Regions from separate parts of the Homo sapiens genome. Here all the other regions are linked to region 3. The links are contacts of gene promoters, found by promoter capture Hi-C in human tissues and cell types (Jung and others, 2019). All regions are on one chromosome and are shown on one strand. Each heading gives the region's core, a stretch centred on a gene start or on the middle of the fragment in contact. The rest is flanking DNA. Distances are from core to core; before and after follow the strand shown. Region 1 has its middle 15 kb from the start of DOCK9-DT. Region 2 has its middle 24 kb from the start of LNCARGI. Region 3 holds the start of GPR18 (G protein-coupled receptor 18).

Region 1 (3,300 bases), core at 168-2,667, 160 kb before region 3:
GGGCGGATCACCTGAGGTCAGGAGTTAGAGACCAGCCTGGCCAACATGGCGAAACCCTGTCTCTACTAAAAATACAAAAATTAGCTGGGTGTGGGGGCAGACACCTGTGGTCCCAGCTACTTGGGAGGCTCAGGCACAAGAATCACTTGAACCCCAGAGGCAGAGGTTGCAGTGAGCCAAGATCACACCACTGCACTCCAGCCTGGGCAACAGAGCAGGACTCTGTTTCAAAAAAAACCCCATCACAGATAAGAAGGCTATGTCTGAGGAAGTAACTAAAGCTTTCTTCTCAATTATTTCCACTGTAGATACATCTTTTCATTGAGCCAATACAGCAGAAATTGGGCAAAAATTCCACATGATTTTAAAACAAATGTCTTCCTAAGTTGACTGGGTGAAACAGGAGTCAAAACCAGTTTCCTTTGGAAAATATTTATTTAACAAAACTCACACAATTTTTTCCAGAAAACACGGTAATAAAAATAAAAATATAAAGTTTCAATAGATGGGGGCTATCTTCAACAGTTCAAGAAATAAGAATCAGAAAAAAAATTGAACAGTCATAAAAAGACAAATACTATGTAATTCCACTTTACAGGATGCCTAGAATAGTCGAATTCATAGAGACAGAAAGCAGCATGGTGGTTTCCAGGGGCTGGAGGGAGAGGAGAATGGAGACTTGTTGTTTAATGGGTACAGAGCTTCGGTTTTACAAGATGAAAATAGTTGTGTGGATGGATGGTGGTGACGGTTCCAAAATAGTGTGAATGTACTTAATGCCACTAACTACACACTAAAAAAAAATAGTTAAGGTTGCAAATTGTATGTGTATTGGCCACAATTAAAAATTATAAAACTAGGCCGGGCACGGTGGCTCACGCCTGTAACCCCAGCACTTTGGGAGGCCGAGACGGGCGGATCACAAGGTCAGGAGATCGAGACCATCCTGGCTAACATGGTAAAACCCCGTCTTTACTGAAAAAAAAAAAAAAAAAAAATTAGCTGGGCGTAGTGGTGGGCGCCTGTAGTCCCAGCTACTCGGGAAGCTGAGGCAGGAGAATGGCGTGAACCTGGGAGGCGGAGCTTGCAGTGAGCCGAGATCGCACCACTGCACTCCAGCCTGGGCGACAGAGCGAGACTCCGTCTCAAAAAAAAAAAAAAAAAGAAAAATTATAAAACTATATATATAAATATATATACATCTCCAAGAAGGGAATAGCAGAAAAGCTGGGAGCATGAAAGTCACTTGAGTGTGAAGAGGGGCTGTTCCTAAGGCAGGACACCTAGAAATTTACAAGAATGGGCAAATCCTGTGTCAAGTGGTCTGAATCATATGCAATTTCTAGGGGTCCTCTTGAAAAAATACAGAGTTTTAAATATCAACTAGAGTACAAAAGGAGATATTTAGTATAAGAAAAATCATGTAAATTATAATTTTTAAGCTACTTAATACCACAAACATCACATAATCCTAAAAAATAGTATTTTTATAAACAAATTTTCTCATGCATCTCTAAAAGGCTTTTTTTCTTATAATTTTTGTCTGCAGACACTCTGATAGCCTCTTAAAAAGACAGTGATTTTGTAATATTTTGTTTGGCAAGAATAGAAAGAAAATTATCTTAAGCGTTGGTAATTGACATTTGAAAATGATTGATAGTTTAGAAATGCTTCTTTCTACTTCTATCAAAGCAACTAGTTGTTGGTAACATCTCGTAACTTTCTTGGATTTTGTCAAATTTCAGGAAAATTGTTAGTAAATAAATTTATGTATGAGCCGTAATATTTTAGGATACTTTCAGTTTTTCTGTGTCTGAGTCCTCAAGTTGACAATATTCATTACCTAGTTTGTCATCAATGTCCTCATTGTATTGGAAAATTAAGAGTTTTATGGAGGCCGGGCACAATGGCTCACACCTGTAATCCCAGCACTTTAGGAAGCCAAGGCAGAAGGATTGCTAGAGGCCAGGAGTTTGAGACCAGCCGGAGCAACAAAAAATTAGCTAGGCATGGTGGTGCATGCCAGTGGTCCCAGCTACTTTGGAGGGTGAGATGTGAAGATCCCCTGAGCCCAGGAGTTTGAGACTATGGTGAGTAATGAACTGGACACTGCTCTCCAACCTGGGCAACTGTATTAGTCCATTCTCACGCCGCTAATAAAGACATACCCAAGACTGGGTAATTTATAAAGGAAAGAGGTTTAATTGACTCATAGTTCAGCATGGCTGGGGAGGCCTCAGGAAATTTACGGTCATGGCAGAAGGAAAAGCAAACACATCCTTCTTCATGTGGCGGCAGCAAGGAGAAGAATGAGAGCCGAGCAAAGGAGGAAGTCCCTTATAAAACCATCAGATCTCATGAGCACTCACTCACTATCACGAGAACAGCATGAGGGAAACCACCCCCATGATTCAATTACCTCCACAGGTCCCTCCCACAACACGTGGGGATTATGGTAACTACAATTCAAGATGAGATTTGGATGGGGACACAGCCAAACCATATCAGCAACAGAGCAAGACCCTGTGTCTTAACAAAAAAAAATATTTTTAGAGTTTTATGTTCTCCTTACCAAAGTCAATATTTCATGTTTAACCCACATAGATTTTAAATTATTTTTCTTTATTTTTTTTAAGACAGGGCCTCGTGCTGTTGCCCAGGCTGCAGTGCAGTAGCATGATCATGGCTCACTGCAGCCTCAGCCTCCTGCACTCAAGACATCCTCCCTCCTCAGCCTCCTGGTTAGATGGGACTACAGGCACATGCCACCACACATGACTAATTTTTTATTTTTTGTAGAAACAGGGTCTTGCTGTGTTGCCCAGGCTGATCTCAAACTCCTAAGCTCAAGCAATCCTCCCACCTTGGCCTGCCAAAGTGCTGGGATTACAGGCATAAGCCACCACGCCAGGCTTAATTCTATGTGAGTTCATATAATTCACAACTCTTTATTACTCAGATTTCAAATAATCTAAATATAGAATCATTTGTTTCTCCTAACAGAATATCCCTTCCTCCTAATGCACGATTGGTTTTGGTATGATCTGGAAGTTTTGTGTTATACTTTCCTTCTCAGTGTCGGAATAACTCCTATTGACTTAATCACTCATCTTAACTGTTTTGTTTCATATCTCACTAATTTTTACCTAATTTTTCTCTCCCTTCTTTAATAAATAAATATAAGGATTGTAAAATAAGCTATCTTTGTGTATGTCTAAATAGGACTTTATCAGCTGGGCGTAGTGGCTAATGCCTGTAATCCCAGCACTTTTGGAGGCCGAGGCGGATGGATCACCTGAG
Region 2 (3,359 bases), core at 676-3,175, 150 kb after region 3:
GAAGAAGTTGCAATGAAACTTCTTTCAAAGTTCGGTCTTGCAAAGGTTTGTTTCGATCTAATGTAAGCAGCATTTAAATGGATACAGCCTTTCTGACACTAAACAAATGAAAAAAAAAGGGCCTGCTTTTCTGACTGTTTCCTTTCCCCCTGTTCTTCCCAATGACACGTGCATCCGTGAATGCTTTCACATTGCACAAGATCCAAACCACCACACAAAAGCACACGAAGTCCCTTCCCCACTTGGCACAGTCCCTCCCGACCCTCTGCAGAGGCATCAGCTCAGCGCCTGGCTGTGCATCCTCCCTGTGTTTTCCAAGTTTTTCAGAAAAACCTTGACATTTTAGTAAATGTTAAGGCTAAGAATTGGGAAGTTTCTCTGTAAGAGAAGGGGAAGTGTTCTTGCTCTTTACAGCATTTCACCCCCCAAACGGGAAGCATCCTCTAAATTGCTGATCTAGTGCTCAGCCACTTCTTTCAGGCTCTTCTGCATTTACCATGAAAATAGACTTTTCCTGGAAAAAAACACCCCACACCCCTTTAGGGGCGAAGGAACTCCACTACCATTTACTAAGAGATATTAGAGCTGTGTTTGTCAGGATACTGAAGTCCAAACTTCAGGGCTCCATCCTTACACTGTCCCTTCAAAGACCCTGTCTCTAATTTTGTATTTCTTTCTTTCTTTCTTTCGTTTTGAGACGGAGTCTTGCTCTTGTCGCCCAGGCTGGAGTGCAGTGGTGCGATCTCGGCTTACTGCATCCTCTGCCTCCCGAGTTCAAGTGATTCTGCTGCCTCAGCCTCCTGAGTAGCTGGGATTACAGGTGCCCACCATCACACCTGGCTAATTTTTGTACTTCAGTAGAGATGGGGTTTCACCATGTTGGCCAGGCTGCTCTCGAACTCCTGACCTCAGGTGATCCGCCCACCTTGGCCTCCCAAAGTGCGGGGATTACAGGCGTGAGCCACCGCGCCCGGCCTAATTTTGTATTTCTTATTCTGTATTCTTTTCCTTAAAAAACCTTTTGCCCAAATTGTATCAACTTCAATACCCCAACGCTGGACCCCTCCCTAGATACAGTCATAAAGCAAATGACACGTTAGACCACGTGCTCCGCTAAGAACATAGAACCTCTGGCCTGGGTGATACTTGGTGTTTCTGAAGAAGCTTTTCCTGGGGTGGAGGAGGAGGAGGAGGAGGAGGAGGAAGACCCTTTGAGCTTTAAAATGCCCAGGAGCCATTTCCTGTAATGGGTGGATGCAAAGAAGTAAATGATGGGGTAATGCCACAGTTCATGTTCATGAGGGCCACGGTGGCCTGAAGGGACAGTAAGAAAGCCCTCCGCTCGGCACAGGATGGCAGGTGGAGCATCCCTCTCGCCATGAACTGCTTGATGTTGAGGTGGTAGGGGCTGAAGCAGACCACCACGGCCACCAGCATCAGCAGCGTAAGCAGGCAGCCTCGCCAGTGGCGTCCTTTCCTGCTGGTCACTGGGTCCTCCCGGGCTGTCCCGCCGGTGGCGTCCTTTCCCGCTGGTCACTGGGTCCTCTCGGGCTGTCCTGCCGGTGGTGTCCTTTCCCGCTGGTCACTGGGTCCTCCTGGGCTGCCCCGCCGGTGGCGTCCTTTCCTGTTGGTCACTGGGTCCTCCTGGGCTGCCCCGCCGGTGGTGTCCTTTCCCGCTGGTCACTGGGTTCTCCCAGCTGTGCTGCACAGCTTCCAGGTGATCTTCATATAGCAGGACAGGATGATCCCCACTGGCCCACAGAAGCCAATGGCAAAGGCCACCAGGACCATGAGGGGCAGCCCGAGGACTGACTCCATGCTGCTGTACTCCATGCAGGCCAGCTTGCCCACCAGCGGCTTGGTCATGGGCATCAAGAGCAAGGGCATCGTCTGCAGCAGCACCAAGGTCCAGATGGCCACGCAGACCAGCCTGGCGCGGCCAGCCGTGCGGAGGCGCGGGCCCCAGTGGGCACAGACCACAGCTGGGTAATGGTCCACGCTCACACAGGCCATGAGGTAGACCCCCCGTAGGTGTCGGTGTAGAGCACAAACGCCGTCAGCCTGCAGAGCCCCTTGCCGAAAGGCCAGCTGGAGCCCAGCACATAACACACCACCCTTCCCGGTAAGGCCACGGTGAACAGCAGGTCAGACACAGCCAGGTGCACCAGGTAGATGCCTGTGCAGTTGATCTTCCTGCTCTTTTGACAGGTAAGGCAAAGGGCAAGGATGTTTCCCAGGGCACTGAAGACCAGGAGGGCTGTGTAGAACAGAGAGCGTCATGCGGGCCACTGGGGCCAGGAGGTGAGGACGGCAAGAGCTGGCATTGCCAGGAAGACTACTCACGCCAGCAGTGCCGGAAGCCATCTCACGTGGCTGCCTGGGGAGGAAAAAAGAAAAAAAAAACACTGTATCTGTGGGGTTATGCCTCTGGAATTGTAATAATGAATAGTTTTGCTGAGGCAACATGCACAAGTATAATAAAACATGTCTTTTTCAGTAAGCTTTTTGTTGAAGTGCAACATACTGTTCTGGTTACTATGGCTGTGTAACAAATTACCCCAAAACGGCAACTGGAAACATAGTTTTATCATGTTTGTGGATTCTGTGGGTCAGGATATTGAAGAGGGCACAGTGGGAATGATTTTTCTCTGCTCCCTAATCTTGGAGGTCTCTGCTGAAAAGGATCAACAGCTGGGGGTTACTCTGGGGCACGGGTTGGGGCCTCCTGGAAGCGACTTTGCTCCCGTGTGTGGCTGTTGAAGCTGACTGCTGGCTGGAACCTCGGCTGGGGCTGTCCACGGGAGCATCTGCCTATGGCTTCTCCCAGCATGCCAGCCTCAGGGTAATCAGACTTCTGATACGACAGCTCGAGGCACTGAAAGAGAGTGTCCCAGCAAACAGGACAGAAGCTGCATGTGTTAACCACGTCTTTTATTTTCTGTATTCTGATGCTTTAACATTTGGGGACCTTGCTGACTGTGGAGGGACTGCCCCTTCCCGGGTTAGCCAATTCCTAGAGACAGTAAACAACTCACCCATGAACACGCTCTTCAGTTCTTCAAATGCAAACCTACCAATCCAGAGTCCTTAGCTTCCACGGGCTCCATTTACAGCTCTCACACACCAGGACACTATCCACCTGCCCTAAACACCCCAGGGCCAGGTACCACACAAATGGGGACAGTCCTCATGTCTCAGAGCTTGCTGAAATGATTCAAACCACCCAATCTTAAGCCTGTGTACCCTAAAACCACTCTTGCCCACATTTTCCCCTGCTCCCTTCACCTCCTGACCAACCCTATGTCTCCCCGGTGGCCCTGCGTGATGGGGCGTGCCCTCCTCTTGGGATCTGTGAGTAG
Region 3 (3,228 bases), core at 321-2,820:
AACACCAACAACAGACTTCAAAAATAGACTTTGCTGCAATGAGATGGAATCTGTGGCATCCCCTTGTAATATGGAGGTGGATGAAAAGTTTCCTTCAAAAATGTCACTTTGCAGAGTGGGCTGTCTTGAAATCAGCCCAGAATTTCTCTTTAAGGAAAACTATGGGGGAGATTTGCTGTCTGTGGTCAGTGGCATCACGGGCTATTGATAATTAAGAATTAACTTGAGCAATTGCTGTGGTTAAACACAAGAAACGTGCCTGTCTGCCTTCCTTCCTTTCCCTTCCCTTCCCTTCCCTTTCTTCCCTTCTTCTCCTTCTTTCCTTCTCAAATATTTAGGTTAAATATGATTTAGGAGCATAATTCTATATATTTAAAAACATATTAAATTTTCCAAATATTGGTGTGACTAGAATATTAATTTCTATCAAATGAGGAAAGTGCTACAGAGAAAAATTATATCTCTAGTGTCATTCAAAGGAGAGTAATCTTGGAGGCTTAAATCTTATTTTTAACTGGAATGCATTCTTATTAAATAGTAGCAATTATAATATAAATGAAATTTTGTATTTGTTTTTCTTTTTTTAGTATTGCATCAGGACTCCCTTCACCTATCCTCATCCTTCAATTTTGTGACATAAGTCCTGTACTTACAAACCATCTTGAGTCTTTTTTCCCACGTTATGCTCAAGCTGTTTTTATGTAGCTTGTCACCAATACTTATATTCATTTGCTGACGTTTGAAAAAAAATGAGTGATGCATGTGTTTTAAAGGCATTATAGTATTGATTGTGCTCTGCAAACACAGAAATTTTTGGATAAATATTGAAAAGTGATTGACTTTAAAGTCAGCTTTTTAAAAGCTATAGATACCATGATTATCTGTAGCTTTTCTTTTCTTAAAAACCATTAAGTTATTTCATGAAACAATGTAATTGAAAACATGTGATGAACATTCCTAAATATACATATGATTTACCATAAACATTTTCTTTCCTTAAGTTGAAAAAAATTACATTTAGTATTAATGTAAAGCAATATTGAAAATAAATGTAAAATCATATTAATGTGGAAAGATGATTATATAGCCTATTTCAAGGTCTTTCACCAACATAGTTTGTTATGTTTATTTTTTTAATTAAATATATTTTTTTAATAGAGACGGGGTCTCACTATGGTGCTCCTGGGCACAACTGATCCTCCTGCCTTGGCCTCCCAAAGTGTTGGAGTTACAGGCGTGGGCCATTGCGCCCAGCCTGTATTATTAAAATGAAATGATTTTTGAAATGCAGTACATAAAGCATTACTTTTGACAATAATCATGAAGTTAATTAAATGCTGCTTACCTCCTGTCCATCAAAAGTCTGTGTGAGAGATGAGCATTTTTCAGCACTTCCACTTCTGTCGAAGGGATATCTTTGAGTTGCTTCTGTTAAAATAGCTCTTTCTGGAAACAGTGTATTTAAGAAATGTTGTATTTTGTTTTAGACTCTTTTGTTGCTTTAAAAAGTAGTTTCCAGTGTAACGCTTGGCGTCGGAGTTGGTGCTGGGCTGACTTTAATTGCTGCTTTGTCTCTTTCAGGAAGTGCTCTCTGAAATAGGCTTTTTCACCTTATGACTTTACCCTGGATGTGGTTTTTCTCTTTCACAAATGATTTGTTTATGAAGTCACACTTAGCATAAGCTCCCCTTGAAATGATGGCATATATTTAAGATAATTATATACAAAGGATAAAGTTTCTTCAGTTTGTGTACTTTGATGCTTGAAGTCTGCATCATCTATGGAAAGAGAAGATTTGATATTGAGTAAAAGGGGGTTTAAAGTCTAGCTTCTTTGCTTTATAAGCTATGTGACTTTGTCTAGTTACCTACCCACTCTGACTAACCCTTTGTTCCTACTTCATTTCTGTACAGTTGAAATAGAGATAATACTATATCCAGTAGGATTGTAGGGGCCCTAAACCAGAAAGATCCCAAGTGCTTAATAGTACCTGGCACTTAGTAGGTACTCCTAAATGGAGTCTCACTTTTTACTACCAAGTTATTAAAAATCATAGAATATCCACATTTCCACTTTTTACTATTTAAACATTTCTAAATGCTTAAAAGTAGGATCCTTGATTAATTGCTTCTGCTTTGCCACATACATTTATCCACTTTAGTTTGCTGTATTTTGTAAGTCTGCTTTTCTAGTGCGTGGAAGTCTAGAAATAATTTCTTTTGCATAAAAATTTCTGCAAATCTTAGCAGAAAGGACTCTGAAGTCTTTAGTGGACTGATTTACATATTAAGAGTGTTTTCACCTAAGAAGGGAAATGAAACCAGCAGAAAGGGAAGTGAGCAACGAATCGCTGCCTGCCTTGTTAGGTTAATTTTGTTTTACTTTCTCATTTCTTAAAAAAAATTATCTCTCATTTGCTTATCCTAAAATTTTAATTATCTTTATGTTTGGTTATGCATGGTTTGTCAACTTTTTAAAGGGTTCATGAACTTAAATGTATTTGTTTTTTTGAATTTTAGACAGTTTGGGGTCCATCCTTTTTTTTTTTTTTCTCAGACAAAACCATAGTAAATCTGTGGCTTAGAAAAGTTACTTAAATCCTTGCCTTTGGTGATAAAATACTTTTGATTGTTACAACCTGCCAGAATGATGGGTTTTAGAAGTGTTGGAGACAACCATAGCAACTATTTCTTGTGTGGATGAAGAAATTGAAGGCCAGTTACTTGCTTAAGAACTCAAGGTAAAGCCAGGTCCAGTTTCTCCCGCTGTAATAACTTCTTATGAGGTAATTATATTGATCTGTCCACTAGATAGGACTTCTTATGGCTGAATCACATTCATCAGTTTTTTATATGTGATGTTATATTTCATTCATCACACAGGAGTTTGATGTTTCAGCTGGACAGAAATCTGCCTGCATGCAGACCTAATCTGTCCTTTGCCTTATTCACATAGCTTAGGACTTTTCTAAAATTAAGTATTGATTAGCTTCCCCATTGCTGCTAAAATCAACAGATACATTGATGGCATGTGTCTAGAAGAGTCCTTTCATCAAGACTTGAATTCTTCACGGTGCACAGGGGCATTCTTGTTTCTGAATTGCCAGACTCTTAGAGGAGGCATCCAGGAGCACCTGAGGGCTCTCCATAGGCCTGGCTTCAGGTTGGGGTGAGCTCTCACTTTTTCCTCATCTTGCTCTCCATTCCAGCCCTCTGGACTGGCTACATT

What was found. The method cuts DNA at HindIII sites, captures the fragments that hold promoters and counts their contacts. A contact is called where the count stands out against the background at its distance.
Region 1: a contact is called between a fragment that was not itself captured here and the fragment with the promoter of GPR18 in region 3, in 3 of the 25 tissues and cell types used here (IMR-90 fibroblasts, lymphoblastoid cells and thymus).
Region 2: a fragment that was not itself captured here is called in contact with the fragment with the promoter of GPR18 in region 3 in 4 of the 25 tissues and cell types used here (dorsolateral prefrontal cortex, lymphoblastoid cells, mesenchymal stem cells and 1 more).

The regions. Positions count from the first base shown.
Region 1 is chr13:99,099,675-99,102,974 of GRCh38, forward strand. No RefSeq gene overlaps it. Among named protein-coding and RNA genes, the nearest start is that of DOCK9-DT, 15 kb to the left of the region's middle. RefSeq lists a silencer at 154-319. The HindIII fragment of the contact is 7,602 bases long and covers 1-3,300 here.
Region 2 is chr13:99,406,683-99,410,041 of GRCh38, forward strand. It overlaps the pseudogene CCR12P. Among named protein-coding and RNA genes, the nearest start is that of LNCARGI, 24 kb to the right of the region's middle. The HindIII fragment of the contact is 3,754 bases long and covers 49-3,359 here.
Region 3 is chr13:99,256,809-99,260,036 of GRCh38, forward strand. It overlaps GPR18 (G protein-coupled receptor 18), which reads right to left and starts at 1,571. Exons shown (of 2, transcript NM_001098200.2): 1 at 1,346-1,571. All of the region lies in intron 4 of UBAC2 (UBA domain containing 2), which reads left to right. LOC124903198 (a long non-coding RNA gene) reads right to left here. Exons shown (of 3, transcript XR_007063846.1): 3 at 1,631-1,778. The HindIII fragment of the contact is 6,968 bases long and covers 1,558-3,228 here.